Regions from separate parts of the Homo sapiens genome. Here regions 1 and 2 are each linked to region 3. Evidence: promoter capture Hi-C in 16 types of primary human blood cells and fetal thymus (Javierre and others, 2016). All regions are on one chromosome and are shown on one strand. Each heading gives the region's core, a stretch centred on a gene start or on the middle of the fragment in contact. The rest is flanking DNA. Distances are from core to core; before and after follow the strand shown.

Region 1 (2,700 bases), core at 197-2,696, 2.9 Mb before region 3:
GTGTACAACTTCTTATTCTACACATTTATTAATCACTTACTATGTACCACACACTCTGCTAGGGATACAGATTTGCATACGACATACTCTTTATCCTGGAGAAACTCACATACTAGTAAGGGAGGAAAAAATGTAAAAAAAAAAAAAAAATCTGAATACCATACAGAATATGAGAGCCCCTGGGTATCTTCAAAACATTTCCAAGTGTTTCCCCTGACCATCTTTGCCACCTTACTGTGACTGATTGACTGATTTGCATGCCACTAATTTCCTTCTGCCACTTTGTATATTTACTGGTTTATGTGTTCGTTGTCTGCCTTCTCCACTCCTTGCCCTAACCGGAATGTAAGCTACACAGGGCAAGGACTTGTCTGTTTACTACTAAGTCTCGACACCTGGACTATTCATAAAACATATTGCCTCCCTTTCACGTGCCAAGCATAACACTCAATCTACATGGAATACAGAGAGGAAGATTGCATGGGCCTTTCATCAAAGAGCTCACTATAGAGTGGAAAAGACATTTACTGTGATCAAAATAGAGTGTGATAAATACTACGCTAGAAGCGGATAAACTTCTTTCAGTAGTTATTCAAGGGTTAGGTAACCTGATGGTTCTTTCATCTGCTAGCTTACACGAATTTCCACTCCTGCTAGGTTGCTCTATGGACTCTTCCACAAGGATAGCATGTGCATTCTGAACTAGACATCTAGCTTCCCAGCTCTCAATGGATGTGAATGTGCTGATTGGGAGATCAGAGATGCTAAGAGTAGCCAGCACAATGACAACAGAAAGAAATGGCAGCCTTAAGTAGGGAGGAGATTTTTTTTAATGAAGAAAAATTATTGACAAAGAAACCATGGAGAAAGAGGAAGACTAAAAGGGCTGTCTGGAGTCATTTTGTGGAGGGCCAAATGGTCAAACACATCTTAGTGAACATGCTGCCATTCCACTTAGCAGAGGTATGTTAAGAGCTCTGCTTACCCCAGAACAGTTTCCTTCAAAGACGAAGTCCTGATTCCCTTAGAGCAAGCCGGGGTATTGTTGAGATGGTCTCAGCAATCCCCATCATCAACCGTGCCACTCATTCTTATTTTGTCCTTTTCGTCTCTTCCTTGAGTTGTGCTCTGCTGTGCTTTAGGGAGGACCTTGCCTTCTATTGCCAGCTCTGAATCTTCAAACTGCCCTCAGGGAATGCTCCTCCTGGCTGTGCTTTGGCCCCACACTTGAGACAACATTCCAGGATCGCCCTCATGGGTGGGATCCAGGAAACTTCTATTATAGAAGGTACTCCATAAATGTTATTTTCCTTCCCACTGCAACAGATGTGCACATAAACGGCAGACATCAGGGAATTCTTCCCTCCTTTCTCCACATTACCTTTGCTTGTTTTAAAAATAAATTGAGAAGCAAACATCAGCAAGAGAGATTTCAATGGTTTAAAAAGAGGTTATGCTGTTTCTCAGAAAGTACAGATTTAAATGTTAAACTTAGCTCAGGTATCAGCTCTACTGAGATTTTTTTCTGACTCATCCCCGCTGCCTGCCTCCCACCTATATTGAGTTATGTGCTCCAACAGCAACTTCTGCTTCCGTCTATCATAGCGTTTATGACATGGCACCATATTTTTTTGTTAACAGATCAGCCTCCCCAACTAGACTGTGAGCGCCTTAAAGCAGGAATTGTTATAATTATTTTCACTGCCAAACTCGGCATCTGGCATATCGTATGCACTCAGGGAATGTCTACGGAATGAATGAACTTAAGGATAATACACGTGACGGAATGTTAAAATGGAAGTTTTGGCTGAGATCTAAAGATGACAGATATAAGATACCAAAGTGAACTGGAAACAGACCACCCTGAAGAATGTGCAAGAAGGGTGCCTGAGGACCCATTAATCAACTCTTAAACCTTTCATTGATGTGGAAGGTCAGACAGAGATGGATTTTTAGGAAAGAGCTGTTGGTTTACTGCACATCAGGCCTCCTTCCAGGGTGAAGTATGAAGAGATCCTCTCCCTTCAGGAGTCAGGAAGACACAGACCAGCAGAGAATCTGCTGCATGTCCCTGAGGTTGTGGCACATGGTGGCTTGTATGTGACTCCTGTCTGGAAGAGACAGGCTGGCTGACAGCTGCAGTGTAAAAGTGAAGTAGAGGTTACCCTGGGATCAACCAGCACTGCCAGAGTCTGTCCAGATCCAAAAGACAAAGGTTTCCCATAGACCCCAAGTGGCCCATGTATGAGAGAGCTGCCAGGGGTTCTCAGATCCTGTCCAACATGGCCACCTAACGAGGTGGAGCAGTCACCATAAAGAAGCATGAGGTTGGGCCGGGAGCAGTGGTTCATGCTTTTAATCCTGGCACTTTGGGAGGCCAAGGTGGGTGGATCACTTGAGGGCAGGAATTCAAGACCAGCCTGGCCAACATAGTGAAACCCCGTCTCTACTAAAAATACAAAATTAGCCAAGTATGGTGGCATGTGCCTGTGGTCCCACGGGGAGGGTGAGGCACAAGAATTGCTTGAACCTGGGAGGCAGAGGTTGCAGTGAATCGAGATTGCACCACTGCACTCCAGCACTCCAGCCTGGGAGACAGAGCAAGACTCTATCTCAAAACAAAACCAAACAAAAAAGAGACCAAAACAAACAAACAACAAAAAAAAAAGGAAAGGATTCCTGAGGAATTAAGAGAAGAGT
Region 2 (2,700 bases), core at 94-2,593, 3.0 Mb before region 3:
AACTTCCCCACTGTCTTGCTGTTTGCACTACACTTATGAGAATGCCAATGACCGCACTTAGGGGACTGGTCCTCAATACTCCCAAAGCCACCACCCCAGAGGCCAGAGCAGAGGCTGGCACACTACAGCCTGCAGGCCACATTGCAGGACCACCTGTTTTTGTAAATAAGGCTTTATTAGAACACAGCTCTGCCCATTCATTCACATATTGTCTGTGACTGCCTTCTTGTTACAATGGCAGAGTTAAGCAGTAGCGAATGAGATCAAATAATATGAAAGGCCAAAAGATATTTACTATCTAGCCCTTTCCTAAAAAACATCTGCTGACTGTATAGCAGTGCAGCTTGTGTCTGGAGTATAAAGAGTTAAAAACATAGCCCCTCTAGCAGTAAATCTTCACTCTTTCTGAGCATTTTTTAAGTGTCGAAAGGGGACTATATACTAATAGCATCGCCAAGCATTCTTTTTATTTTGATTTTTATTTCATGAGACTTCAGCTTTTCCCGCCTCTCCTCTCCTAGTCGTAGGACACCACTGCCATGTAGTTTAAATGGGGCATCACATCGTCTATCTCCTACCACTGATATTTTTAAAATCTCAGCTCCACCTCAGCCCCAATTATCTTCTGACACTTATAGGAGGTGGTTTAATGCCACTTACCAGTGTGTGACCTTGAGCAAGTAATTTCATGTCTTGGGACCTCAGTTTCTTCTTCAATAGAACAGGATATTATTTACTCTTGGGGCTATGCAGATGTAATGAAATAATGAAAGTTCTTGGAACATAATTTGCATCCTAGAAAGGTGGTTATTATTATTGTTGCTGTTGATTAGTGTAAGGTAATGGTTAAGAACTTCAGCCGGACATCTTGGGTGATCTTGGGCGATCTTGGGCAAGTTATTTAATTGCTCTGTGCTTCGTTTTCCTTATCTGCAAAATATAAATAACAGTGCTGATCATTTCCGTTTGTTATGAAGATTAAGTGGGATCAGGCATAGACCAGAGCCTGCCCATGGTGAGCACTTATCCACTGTTAGCTACTATTATTATTAGTTATTCTTATTGGTATATTAACTGTTTATTCTTAAAACTAGAGTTGTGATTATAGTATGAGAAACAATATTTTTTAAACACTGAGTTAAGTTTTTGTACAAATGTAAAAGGGTTTTGGGGAGAGTAAAATAATCAGAAAAAAACGAAAAGAGTAACACATTGTTATCTCATTCTACACTTACAGTTGTAAAGGTTTATTTTTTAACCACTTCCTTACCAGCTCAATCACCTTGTAACAAAATCGACATTGTATTTATTTCCTGTAGATTCCATAACCTCCCAGAGTCTCTTTGTAAGTCTCTCTACAAAAAGAGCAGGTGAAATCAAGGCCAAATACGTGTTCCTGATATAAATAGCAGGAAGTCGATGAAATGTTTATTGTAAAAAGAGTAGGATTGAAACATATGCTTGAATACATATAAGCACAATATGTTCTCCAGCTCTATGTAGCACCTGTGTAGAACAGCTAAGCCATATGTTTCAGAAATTATACTTTAAAAATTACTATGTAGATGTAAAAAAGGAAAATGCACAATTTATACAAAAAATAAACATGTTTACTGTTAAAATAACTTCATGGTTCCTTCAAATCCTTTTTAATTGTAACAAGTTTTTATCTTGTAGTGTATGCAGAAACTTCTTACAAAACCATTAAAGTAAATAAACAGCTTAGAAGTATATTGTCAAAATGATATTAAAATATCTATACAAGGTTGAAATTTAAATCAGCACAACTTTAATAGAACTCATGACATTTAGTATTAAGAACTCATGTCGCAAAATAGCTAATGTTAGCTACACTATCCTTTAGTATTTGCTTGATCTTAAGGAAATAACTTTTTACTCTTTTTAGCAAAAGACCTAATAATATATTAATGTTGTCTGTGTTGTATGTATGGTTTAGGGTGAGGGTGTGCACAAGGAGGGGAAGTAAGTTGGAGAGGCGTGATATTCTTGGCCTGATATACATTACTAGGGAGTTTCCTACATGGAATACAGGATAGAGAAGGAAGACTTCAAAGTTAGAATGGATGGAAATACTAAATTTAAAAATATAACAAAGAAATGCATGATTGTATTATTAGTTAATAATTAATTATTAGTTAATAATTAGTTAATGTGACACTTGCTATCCCGTTAGTTTGACCCATGGTCTGGAGCTACAATTTAATTTAACTGAAGGGACAACTTTCAGTTGAAATTTCTTATATTTCCAAGTAGAGGTCTTTTTGAGCCTATTTCTAATGACTAGTTTAAACATTGATAATTAGCAACATTCATTCGTAAGGCAATAATTTCTATAGCAGTGAATATCATTTTAATTCTGTAATTAGATAACCAAAATTTTAATAATAGGAGCTATCAATTTGCTGAATAAACCTTCCAACAGATAATATGAAAGAAAAACATCTATACAACTCAGGTGAAAACATGATGATTTGGTTAATTAACCTTCGAAATACTGTGGTTGTTCCATTATGTGCAATAAAATGCTTTGTAAAAAACTTGTCTAAAGGAGTAAGTCTGGGAAATGCTTCACAGGTAATTTTTCTCTAGGAAGCTCACAATGCACATGAGTATATTACAAGATTAGTATAAGATATTCTGTAGTAACAAGACATATTTAACTCAGTGTTTCCCAAACTT
Region 3 (2,700 bases), core at 108-2,607:
ATAGACCTCAAAGGCTTTTATAAAACCCAAACTGCCAGTCCCTGGGCCAGAAGCATTGATGCAGTGTTTTGTCTGGGACTTGAATCCTGTATTTTTGATAGATTCCCAGGCAGCTCTGGTGATCAGCCAGGTTTGGGAATCACCTGTTAGAGGAAATGGCCCTCAGGCGGGGTCTCCTCACCTGTGCTCCACCCCGCCTCTCCCTGGTCAGGACAGGAGAAGATTTCTAAGAACTTGACAAAGCAAGAAAAGTCACACCGGTTACACATAAAGCAGGGCGCAGGCCACCCACTCTGCCCATCCCCAACCCCGGGAGAGCTGAAAGCCCCAAAACTGGCAACTGAGGTTTGGGTTTCCATCTCCAGCTCTGTCAGAAAAACAAACAAACAAAAATAACCCCAGCAAAATAAAATCACTTTAGAGTCAGCCAGATCTGGGTTCCAACCCTGGCTCTTCTAGTTACTACCTATGTGACCATGGGCAGGTGTTACCATCTCTCTGAGACTCAGTTTCCTCACTTTTTTTTTTTTTTTTGAGACGGAGTCTCACTCTGTCCCCCTGGAGTGCAGTGGCATGATCTCGGCTCACTGCAACGTCTGCCTCCCAGGTACAAGCAATTCTCCTGCCTCAGCCTCCCAAGTAGCTGGGATTACAGGCACCCACTACCACACCTGGCTAATTTTTTTTATATTTTTGGTAGAGACAGGGTTTCACCATGTTGGCCACGCTGGTCTCAAACTCCTGACCTCAAGTGATCCACACACCTCGACCTCCCAAAGTGCTGGGATTGCAGGTGTGAGCCACTGCACCCGGCCATTCTTCACCTTTTAAAATGGGAATCCAAATGCCTCAATAAACACCAGGCCAAAAACAGGGTGCTCCTTTATGTTAACTCCTTTTCTGGCCTCCACTAAATCCCCCTGTGGGCTTAGGCATGCTGTCCTGCTGGGCTTTGGTTTCCCTGACCGTGAGAAAGGGTTTGTGAAATTAAGTAGCCGTCTGCAGGGGCGGAGCTGGCAGAGGTTGTTACTAACGGGGATCACACTGTCCAGCCTGCATGGTCTGTACTAACAGGAGCCTGCCATCCCCATTCCTTCACAGCTCCTGCTGCCTGGGCACAAATGCCCTGGAGAGTGAGTGACTGTCAGACCAGCCGGAGGGGAGCAACGGGAAGAGCCGCTTGCTGAGAAGAGGTGGGCTTGGCAGGACTGCAGGTGGAGTACTCTCCCCAGTCCCCTGCAGGTGCTGGTCTAAGCCAAGCTGGGAGGATGGCGGCCGGCCCTGGCCCAGCCCCAGGCAAGGGAGGAGCCTCGGCCCAGATGGGGCAGGTGGGGAGCCTGGGCTCAGGTGTGTCCTGTGGGAAGTGATTGCTCCCTGGCTAGCAGAGACAGAGGAAAGCGGATTGTTGGCCCCAGGACCCAGCTCTGAGAGGCTGGGCTTGTTTCCCTGACTCTGCCTTGGAGGAAAGCAATGGAAGGGGTAAGGCTGTCTCAGTTTTGTTGCTGGCTTTCTGTGTGTCTTTTCTTGCAGGACAAGTTCCTCCCACTTGAGAGCCCTGGGGAAAAACTGCTTGTGTGTGCTGCCTCCTGGGCAGGAATAAACATGTCAGGTGTCAGCCAGTGCATTTCTGCTCACACTGGCTTTGCTCAGGGCGGGTGGGAGGGAAGAGGAGTGTGCCATGTCCTGTGCCACCTGGAGTGTGAGGGGACAGGAGGTGCTGAGGAATGACAGCATGTGGCCTAGCTCTACCCAGCCAGCTGGACTCCTGACCTATTCCCAGATCCTCCGTTGAAGCGCCCGCTGGCTTCTCTCTGTGTTTACTTGCCCTTGTGGACTGTATCTGGCCTCTGCAGTGATTAGCGGGCCTCCTGGTCAGAGAGCAGTGCTTGGTGCTAGGAAGCCGGCTGTGCATTGCTCTTTTGTGGCTTGTGGCTCTAGACCGGGTTCTGCTCCTTGTTAACTGTGTGGCCTGGGGCAAGTGTGTCCGTCATCCTGAGCCCTGGGTCCCTCACTCATGAAAGAGAATTACTGGTACAATAACTACTTTGTGAGACTATCAGAGGTGCTTGTATAAATAGAGATGTATGGAAAAGTATCCTGCCCTACGCCAGCATTCCCTGCCCCTTGGATGGCTGAGTGCTGTTGGCACAGTTGGAGACGTCTTGCCTGACTGACCACATCTTCCTTTTTCCTTCTCCAATTCTCCACTCTCCTCTATTTCCGTCTTCAGTAAGTCAGTTTCTTTTGATGTGCGTGTGCATGTGTGTGTGTGTGTGTGTGTGTGTGTGTGTGTGTGTGTGTGTGTTGCTTCCATACTTTTTATTATATATTTGGAGTCAAGTCATTTTCTCCCATGAATCATGTGGCTTCTCACCCACAAGTTTGGTTTTAAATCAGGGCAGAGGATCCATTTTAGCTTTTGCTGGTCAGGAAAAGCTCCCCTTTGTCTCAGGGCAAAGGGCATGTTTCTCTCTGTGGCAAATCACTCCAGTCCAAATAGCTGAGTTTTGGAAAGGGGTGAGCAGGGGCATGTTGGTATGACTTCATCTCCCTCCTCTGAGTTCTCCCCGCCACCCCCACCTCGACCATACCACTTAGCAATTTTTAAGAAACTCCTCCTTGACGGGAAAGTGCCAGGCTGAATAGATTTAGCGTGCTTGTAAGAAAAGGAAACTGACTTACATTTTCCCCATCTCTGAT

The links. Contacts are between HindIII fragments. The CHiCAGO score rates a contact against its expected background, and 5 or more counts as called.
Region 1: a contact is called between a fragment that was not itself captured here and the fragment with the promoter of FYB2 in region 3, in 9 of 17 cell types (total CD4 T cells, naive B cells, non-activated CD4 T cells and 6 more). The highest score is 15.7, in total CD4 T cells.
Region 2: a fragment that was not itself captured here is called in contact with the fragment with the promoter of FYB2 in region 3 in 2 of 17 cell types (naive B cells and total CD4 T cells); the score reaches 5.3 in naive B cells.

Annotation. Positions count from the first base shown.
Region 1 is chr1:59,754,349-59,757,048 of GRCh38, reverse strand. The region is part of intron 14 of FGGY (FGGY carbohydrate kinase domain containing); the gene reads right to left. Among named protein-coding and RNA genes, the nearest start is that of MIR4711, 22 kb to the right of the region's middle. The HindIII fragment of the contact is 5,194 bases long and covers 1-2,700 here.
Region 2 is chr1:59,770,998-59,773,697 of GRCh38, reverse strand. All of the region lies in intron 4 of LOC105378758 (a long non-coding RNA gene), which reads left to right. It overlaps LOC101926944 (a long non-coding RNA gene), which reads right to left and starts at 903. Exons shown (of 3, transcript NR_110627.1): 1 at 661-903. The HindIII fragment of the contact is 9,709 bases long and covers 1-2,700 here.
Region 3 is chr1:56,818,061-56,820,760 of GRCh38, reverse strand. It overlaps FYB2 (FYN binding protein 2), which reads left to right and starts at 1,357. Exons shown (of 20, transcript NM_001004303.5): 1 at 1,357-1,479. The coding sequence starts at 1,471. The HindIII fragment of the contact is 7,052 bases long and covers 1-2,700 here.